Linked DNA regions of Homo sapiens: region 2 is linked to region 1. The links are contacts of gene promoters, found by promoter capture Hi-C in blood cells and fetal thymus (Javierre and others, 2016). All regions are on one chromosome and are shown on one strand. Each heading gives the region's core, a stretch centred on a gene start or on the middle of the fragment in contact. The rest is flanking DNA. Distances are from core to core; before and after follow the strand shown. Region 1 holds the start of SPRR1A (small proline rich protein 1A). Region 2 has its middle 11 kb from the start of FLG2.

Evidence for each region. Contacts are between HindIII fragments. The CHiCAGO score rates a contact against its expected background, and 5 or more counts as called.
Region 2: a contact is called between a fragment that was not itself captured here and the fragment with the promoter of SPRR1A in region 1, in 1 of 17 cell types (M1 macrophages). The highest score is 5.6, in M1 macrophages.

The regions. Positions count from the first base shown.
Region 1 is chr1:152,980,728-152,985,330 of GRCh38, forward strand. SPRR1A (small proline rich protein 1A) reads left to right here and starts at 3,354. Exons shown (of 2, transcript NM_005987.4): 1 at 3,354-3,398; 2 at 4,485-4,603. The coding sequence starts at 4,504. The HindIII fragment of the contact is 3,855 bases long and covers 483-4,337 here.
Region 2 is chr1:152,369,163-152,373,765 of GRCh38, forward strand. No RefSeq gene overlaps it. Among named protein-coding and RNA genes, the nearest start is that of FLG2, 11 kb to the left of the region's middle. The HindIII fragment of the contact is 3,003 bases long and covers 752-3,754 here.

The sequences.
Region 1 (4,603 bases), core at 2,104-4,603:
TTAATACTGCATGTTTCTAAATGTTACCATGCTTTAAATATGCAATCCCCACAGGAAAAGGCCTGGAGTTCAAATTCTGCATGACCTTCTTTGCAGGGTCTGGGCTTTAGGGAAGTGTGGGGGAGAGAGTAATCTATGCTGGGAAAAGCCTGATCACTGATTAGACTTAGGGCCATCAATCTTCCTTGCTCTGGAAATGACTGATGAACCTGAGGCACTGCTCAGAGTCAATGGAAGTTCCAGGGACAAATGAGAGCCAGTTTTCGATGTCAGAAGAGCAGCAGCTCCTGTGTCCTAGGTGGGGCTTTTCTGCAAGGCTGAGAAATCTGGGGTGCTGTTCTTACTGTCGGAAGCCACCCAGTTTCCCCTTGTCTTTATGTGGGAGTTTGTGGGGCCTGATTCAATAGCTAACCCAACCCCAGTGGCAGAGAAACAAAGTTTCTTCTGAGGGAAGATTAACGATTAACACAAGTCACTGTGGAAGCTTCAAATACACAGAGAGAAGAATGTCAGAGACCAAGAGAAAGTTCCAGAGTCTGGAGCCCAAGCAGGCTTGGGTGGGGTGAAGGAAGCACATGTTGAGGCACGCAGGACTGTCCAGTAAGGAGCTGATAACCAGGGAGAAGGAAATTCCTTTGCATCCAGGGCTAAGGTCCAGGGAGGGCATGAGAACACACCAGCTTCAGAGGTGGCTTCAGATCATCCAGGGCCTGAGACAAGCTGGGTGACACCAGAGGACAGACAACTAGGCAGCAGGTTCCTGCAGGGCTGAGAATCCTACCAGACATAGCAACAGGTTCCAGCAGCCCCTGCTGTCAGGGCTCCTGGGTGGGGACTTGGTGAAGAAGGGGACCTGGGCACAAACCTAGAGGAGAGCTAAGTGAGGCAAGAGTCTTGGAGCTCAGGTGTCCTGGTGGGGCTGGCACCAGCCCGGAGCAAGGTGGGGCATTAAACTGTTTGACAGTGAGGCAGGTGGGTGGGGAGGGCAGCAGGTACACTGTGTACCGGAGCTTCTAGGCAGGTTTCAAAGTAGACTCTCAGCCTGTCTTTACAAATAACGCCATTCAGTCATTCATTCATTCAGTCAGCCAGCCAGCCAGCCAGCCAGGCAGTCGGTCTATAAATGCCAGTCACCAAGCAGCTTCTGCACGCCAGGCACTGTGTGAGGATGGAGATGGATAGGGACCAATGGCTGCATGGACACAGTGGGAGGCTGACCTTGGCCTCAGGTTCACTGGCTGTGGAGCCAGCAGGTGCTCCACAAACATTTAGGTGTGTGTTTGGGTAAAGGAGGGGTTAGATGAGGAGGAGGAACCATCTGAACACCTGAGTTTTAAGGATGATTTGGATTTTCCAAAGGCCACACCTAGTAACAGTTTGTGTTTTGAGTGCAGCTCTGAATCAGAGACCTCAGTTTTATGGCAATTGCCTATGGAAAGATTGAGGGAACCCCTGTTCTTGTGTCCCCAGGAAAGAGAAGTTCCTTGGCAGGGCAGAATCTGACCATCGTGGAGTGAAGGCAAGCATGTGCAGGTGCTCAGGGGCTTATCACCTACTGCCTCCCCCAGTGCCTTCACCTCAGCTGTGTCACGATGTCACTCTGAGAGCTCCCCTAGAGCGAAAGCAACTCAGGATAGAAGCAGACATTTTAGTTTTGGCTTTTCCCTTCCTTTCTCCGACCCTGGTGCCCTGAGTAATGATAAACTGAACCTTATTTCCACCTATTCTAATTCATGCCCTTCTTACTTTAGCAGAGCTAGAAACACCCACTGTTTAGAGCCACTCAAATATTAAGCATCTTTATTTCTACTTAAAGGGATTTATCTTAGCACCGATTAAGGCTTACCCACAAGGCAAGGCTCTTTCTGTGTCCTCACGCTGTCACTCCTAAAACTTTCCAGAACTACAAGTGACCCAGCTCTCAGTCAGGAAGGGCTCCCCTTTCCACCTCTAATCAATTTTCTGCCTGGGCTTAATTTCCTCCATAGACATTAGGGAGTCACAAGGAATTAAAACAAAGGAGAACACAGGATTTCTGTGTAAAATTCTTTTCTTCCTAGGGTTTGTTTTTTTGACCTTGGTGAGTTATTTCACCTCTGGTGGCCTCAGATTCCCCAATCATCCCTTGAGGAGTGTGAACTAAAGGCTCTCTGAGATCCATAATCTCAGTGGCTCTCAACTGTGCTCTGTCTCTTACCCTGGGGAGTTCATGATCTGTAGAGGAAAAGTGGGCTTCCTCATCAGAGAGCTCCTAGAATGACAGGCATGATGGGCATATGTTAGGCTCCCCACTGAGATTTGTTGAATAAATGAGGAAATAAACACTGTGGTGGGGACACCGTTGCTTTAAGCAGGAACAGCTCTGACCCTCGGAAAGCCCCCAGGAGATACAGACCCAGAAGGAGGAGGAAAACCTTGCAGCCAGCAGGATCTCTAGGTATTGGGGCTGGAGCTGGCAGTGGGCAAAAGTGGAGAAGGATTCAGCATTGAGGACCCCATGGATGGGCTGCAGGGAGGCAGGTAGAAAAGGCTTTTGGGTTTTCAGGTGGGGGGCAGTCTAGCCTGATCAGAAAGGAGGAAAAGGCCAGGGCCAGATGTCTGGGTGGAGTGAAGGGAAAAAGTGATCCCAGAAGAAGGATTAGCCCCTGAAAGTCCCTGAAGTAGGAGAAGGGTAAAGGTGTGGTTGGTGAAGGAAAGCAGGTTTTCCCAGATTAGCAACCAGTCAGGGGGAGGAAGGTGAGAGTGGGAGAGTCATAAGTAAATTATTCTGAATGTGTGTAGTTTAATGGAATTGGGAAAAAGATGGGGGAAATGGATGGAAGGGTCTTGGACTCTGAGACAAGGGGTCTATAATCAGTCCATTTCATTATTTCTAGCTTCCACCTTCACCAAGGCAGACAAGGAGGGCCCACCTCAGCTCCTCTGCTCCCCCTCCCTTTCCCACCTATTCATGTGTGCAAGAGTGCCCTGTCCCACAGAACACGGGGAACAACCATCTCAATGACAAGGACAGCAGGTGGCAAGGCCTCAACAGGACTCAGATGTCCCCCCAGGGTTAACTCATGAAACCCTCCATGAAGCCTGCTGCTCACCCCTCCCTCAAGGCAAGCCCTGCACCTGGGTCTGAGGATGAGGGTGGCAGTGAAAATTAGGCCAGTGACATCATTTTCAGCCAGCCAGTGCCAAAAAATATCAGGTGGTGTTCATCAAAAAAGCTGAGCCAACCGGTGATGAGGATGGTAGTGTGAGTCATGTGTGACAGGTGAGGAATGAAAACAGAGTGCCCGAGAGCTTCTATTTCCTTGAGGCAGGGCTCATTCATCTTATAAAAGCCAGCTGGCCATTGCCTTCACACCAAACCCAAGGGACCACACAGCCCATTCTGCTCCGTATACCAGGTAAGTCTCTGATTGCAACAAACTGGCAATTCTAGTGTACTTTTTCATTATTAGAAATTAGCTAAAGGCAAATATGTGTAAGCAGGTTAATCCAGGGTTTCAATGGGAGATAGAGAATAGTGGAATATCTTTATTTTAAGTTAAATTACAGTCTGGATTTGAAAGGACCTTAGAGATGGTTAGGGCTCCCACCTCAGTAGATAGTCATTGAACTGGGAGTCCTGGAGAAGATTGTTCAAATGCCCATGGGAAGTTCATAGCAGAACTAGAACTCAGGCCCAGAGCACTCTCAGTAACACTGCAATTTCCCCCTGACAAGATATTTATAGAAATTTTAATTTATTAGATGGATCTCTACTGAGCATTTATTCCATTTAAGGCAGTATGCTAGGCACTTTGGACAAATCAATGCCTAACGTACTTACTTAACAAACATAAAACCTAGCAGGAAGGTAATACATATATATAAATAAATGAAATGCAAAGTAGATAGTAATTGGCATGACGGAGATGGGCAGAGAAGGGCTGTGCACTTTTGGGAGACCTTGCTCAAGGAGACCCTCCTAGGGGTGTCAAGTGATGTGAGCTATGATGGAGGGGTATTTGGACAAGCAGAGATGGGAAGAAAAGCATTTGGAAGGGACTGTGTAAGCACAGACCAGAAGCAAAACCATAGAGGCTTAGATGAATATAAAGCCATCCTATAAGTCACAGGCTTTCTACATGGTACTAGGAGAGGAAAGTGGTCTGATGCCATTTTCCAAAAGACCTAATATGCGGACCTCATGTCCCTCAGAAGCCAGCTTTAGTAGGGCATTTTTCCAGAACAGATATAAGTTGCCTTGGGTAGGAAGGGAGCCAAGAAGAGAACTCCAATAAAATGGAGCAGAAGAAATTGCCTTTTAGCTCCTCCTCTTCAAAGGGCCTGAAAATTATCCAAGCTTATTTCATTTTTAAATGTAATGGGGGAGTTAAGGGAGATGAAAGGCTTTCTCTTCTAAAGGGTCCTGAAATAAAATCTGTTTGGCATTGAATTTGTATCCATCTTTCTTTAATTGAATCACTGTGTCAGCTTTCTGTCTCTAGAAAAAAACACATTTGAAGCATGAATTCTCAGCAGCAGAAGCAGCCTTGCACCCCACCCCCTCAGCCTCAGCAGCAGCAGGTGAAACAACCTTGCCAGCCTCCACCCCAGGAACCATGCA
Region 2 (4,603 bases), core at 1,003-3,502, 610 kb before region 1:
CTTAATTGATATTTATAGAACACTCCACTCAACAACAGTGGAATATACTTCCTTTCAAGTGCACATGGAAGATTTATCAAGAAAAATTCTGAACCATAAAACAAGTATCAATAAATTAAAATTATTCAAATCCTACAAAGTATATTCTCTGATCACAATGAAATTATATTAGAAACAATAGAAGGGAATGTGGAAGCTAAAATATTTGGAAACCAAAACACACCTAAAAATGACTTATGGGCCAAAGAACAAATGAAAGAGGAAATTAGAAAGTATTTTGACTGAATAAAAATGAAAAAATGAACATATCAAAATTTGTGAGTTGCAGCTACAGCAATACTTAGAGGAAAATTTATAGCACTAAAATGTCTATATTAGAAAAGAAGAAAAGTCTTAAATCAATGAACTAAGCTCCTGTCATAAAAACCAGAAATAAATATGAGCAAATTTTGTCAAAAGTAAGAAGAAAAGAGATAATAAAGATAACAGAATAAATCAGTGAAATAGGAAACAGAAAAATAATAGAAAACCAATTAAGGCAGAATGTGGTTCTTGGAGAAGATCCATAAAATTGAAAAACATTTAGATAGAGAGAGAGATGATACAAATTTCCAATATCAGGAATGAGAGAAGAAAAATCACAGTCTGCAGATTAAAAGGATAATGAGGGAATATTGTGAATAACTTTAGGCTGGTAATTTCAACAATTTAGATGACATGAACAAATTCCATGAAAGACACTAACTAGTAAAGCTTACTGAAAAAGAAACAGCTAACCTGAATAGCCTTATATCTAATAAATAAGTTAAATGTGTAATTAAAAACTTTCTCACAAAGAAAACTCTAGGCCCAGATGGCTTCACTGGTGAATTTTACTAAACATTTAAGGAAGAAATGATACCAATTATACAGAAACTCTTCCAGAAAACTGAAGACGAGGGAATACTTCCCAACTCATTCTGAGAGCAACATTACCCTGATACTAAAATCAGACAGAGATTATAAGAAAACTATAGACCAATATTCCTCATGAAAATAGATACAAAAATTCTTAAAAAATTTTAGCAAACCACATTGAACAATGTATGAAAAACATATGTTATGACAAATGGGGTCTATCCTGGGAATGGCAGGTTGGAACCAACCCAAATGTCCAACAATGATAGACTGGATTAAGAAAATGTGGCACATAGACACCATGGAATACTATGCAGCCATAAAAAATGATGAGTTATGCAGCCATAAAAAATCATGTCCTTTGTAGGAACATGGATGAAGCTGGAAACCATCATTCTCAGCAAACTATCGCAAGGACAAAAAACCAAACACCACATGTTCTCACTCATAGGTGGAGATTGAACAATGAGAACACATGGACACAGGAAGGGGAACATCACACACCGGGGCCTGTTGCGGGGTGGGGGGAGGGAGGAGGGATAGCATTAGGAGATATACCTAATGTTAAATGACGAGTTAATGGGTGCAGCACACCAACATGGCACATGTATACATATGTAACAAACCTGCACGTTGGGCACATGTACCCTAAAAATTAAAGTAAAAAAAAAATCATCATATCAAACTAAAGAAGACAAACTCTACTATCATCTCGATAGATGCAGAAAAGGCATTTGATAAATGTCAACATCCATTTGTAGTAACAGAATCTCTTAGCTAAATAGAAATTAAAGGGAACTTTCTCAACCTGATAATGGGCATCGACAAAATTCCTATAGCTAGCATCTTATCTAATGTTGAAAGACTGAATGGTTTACCTCTAAAATTAGGAGCATGGACCAGGTGCAATGGCTTACGCGTGTAGTCAGCATTTTGGGAGGCTGAGGCAGGAGATCACTTGAGGTCAGGAGTTTGAGACCAGCCTGGGTAACACAGCAAGACCCTGCCTCTACAAAAAATAAATGGATTAGTCAGGTGTGGTGGCATGTGCCTGTAGCTACTCAGGAGGCTGATGTGGGAGGATCGCTTGAGCCCCAGAGGGGCCAAGGCTACAGTGAGCCATGATTGCACCACTACACTCCAGCCTGGGAAACAGAGTGAGACCCTGTCTCAAAAATAAATAAATAAATAAAATAAAATAAAATAAAATAAAATAAAAAAGATTGGGAACATAAATTTCCTTGCTCATACTCAGCATCATAGTGGAGATCCTAGTCAGTGCAATGAGACTATAGGTTAGAAAGGAAGAGGTAAAACTCTCTTTATTTGCAGGTGACATAATTGTCAATGTAGAAAATAACAAAGAAATGTAATAAACACATGCAAAAACTGCTAGAACTAATAAGCGAGTTTATTTAAGTCACAGTACATAAGGTCAGCATACAAAAGAATTAATAATATTTCCATATACGATCAATAAACAATTGGAAATTAAAAGTACTATGTATAATAACATCCAAACCATAAAGTATTTAGGTATAATTCTTAGAAACATATGCAATATATATGTACTGAAAACTACAAAGCACTGATGTGAGAAACCAAAGAAAAAAACTGAATAAATGAAGAGTCATCCTTGTTCATGGACTAGAAGACTTAATATAATTAAGTTGTCAATTTCCCCCAATTATTAGAAATGCAACAACATCCTAATAAAAATTCTAATGGTCTTTTTCTTTAATGGTCTGTTTTATATTAATGGGCAAACTGATTCTAAGATTTAAAGGGAAAGGGAAAGGAACTGGAATAGCCAAAACAACATAAGAAAACAGAATCGGAAGACTCACACTGGTTGTCTTTAAGACTTAGTATAAAGCTGCAGTAATCGAGAAAGTGTTTCATTAGCAAAGTTTAGTCACTTAGAACAATGGAATAAAGTTCATAAATAGACCCATGCTGATATGTTCAGGTAATTTTCAACAGATGTACAAAGGCACTAATTGGGGAATGATAATCTTTTCAACATACGGAACTGGAACAATTGGATAGCCATATGCCAGAAAGAGAGAGAGAGAGGGAGACAGAAGGAGAGAGAGAGAGAGAACAAAAAGAATGAAAAAGAGCTTTGTTCCATATTTTGCACCGTATACAAAAATTACCTTAAAATGAATCGTAGACCTAAATGTCAAACCTCAATGAATAAAATATGATTAGAAGAAAACATAGGAAAAAATCTTTGGGACCTTGAGCTATACAAGGTTTCTGAGATTGATTTCTTAGATTTGACATTGAAAGCACAATTCATAAAAGAATAAAAAATTGAAAAATCGAACATCATAAAAATTTAGAATTTCTTTGAAAGATACTATTATGAGGATGATAAAATAAGCCACAGATTGGGATATTTGCAAATCACGTATCTGTTAAAAGGCTTGTATCCAGAATATATTAAGAACTCTTAAAACTCAATAACGAGAAAATAAACAACTCAATGAATAAATGGGCAAAAAATTCGAATAGACATTTCACCAAAGAAGATATATTAATGTTAAATGTGCATGTTCAACATCACTGGTCCTTAGGAAAATGAAAATTAAAACTGCAATGAGATGCCACTACATACCTATTAGGATAACTCTTAAAAAGTTATTGCACTAGCAAAATTAAGTGCTGGCTAGGATGCAGAGCAATGGAAATCTGGGAATGAAAAATGGTACAGTTACTTTGGAAAACTGACAGTTTTCTTATAAAAGTAAATATACACTTACCATCTGACCTAGCAATCTCACTCCTAGATGTTTACCCAAGTGCAGTGAAAACATATTCACAAAAAAATCTGCATGCAAATATTTATAGAAGCTTTACTTACATAACTGGAAACAACCCACATGTTCTTCGCCTGGTAAATGGAGAAACAAAAATTGTAGTATATTCATAGTTACATGCAACAAAATTGATGAACCTCAAATGCATTATGCTAAGTGAAGAGTCAGGCTTACAAGGTGCATTTTGCACAATTCCACTTCTACAACATTCTGGAAAAGGCAAAGCTACAGGGACAGAAAACAGGTCAGTGGTTACCAGAACCTGGGACTGAGGAAAGAATTTGGCTATGAAGGAACATTGTGGCAGTTTTGGGGGTTATAGAACTGTTCTATATCTTGATATGGCTCTTCGCATTTGTCAAAGCTTGCAGAACTGTACACCAGAGATAAAATTTAATCTGTGTAAATGCCATCTTAGTAAAAACTTAAAGGTAAATTTAAAAATATTACTTTTATAACTAGCATATACATTCTATGAGGCTTGGTCTGTTTCATTTACTGCTATATTCCAAATACCTAGAGCAGTGCCTGGCACAATGTAGATACTCAAAATATGTGTTGAATAAGTGAATAAATAAATGACTGATTGATTTGTTATCAGGAGATCTAAGTTTTACTTCTACCCCTTTTTGGTTGTCTTCCCTGGATAAATCACATAACTGTCTTCACTCAGCTACCTCATCTGTAAAATGAGATGGTAATATCTCTCTCACTTATCGCAAAGGGCTATTGTGAAGATAAAATGAGAACAAAATTATAAAACCTTGTTATAAACTCTATAGTACTATATGAATTAATATTATCACCCTTATTGTTATTTTGTTAAAATTCCCACAATCTTTGATTTTTTTTGACTTCACAATTCTTTTTTCTCCACTTAT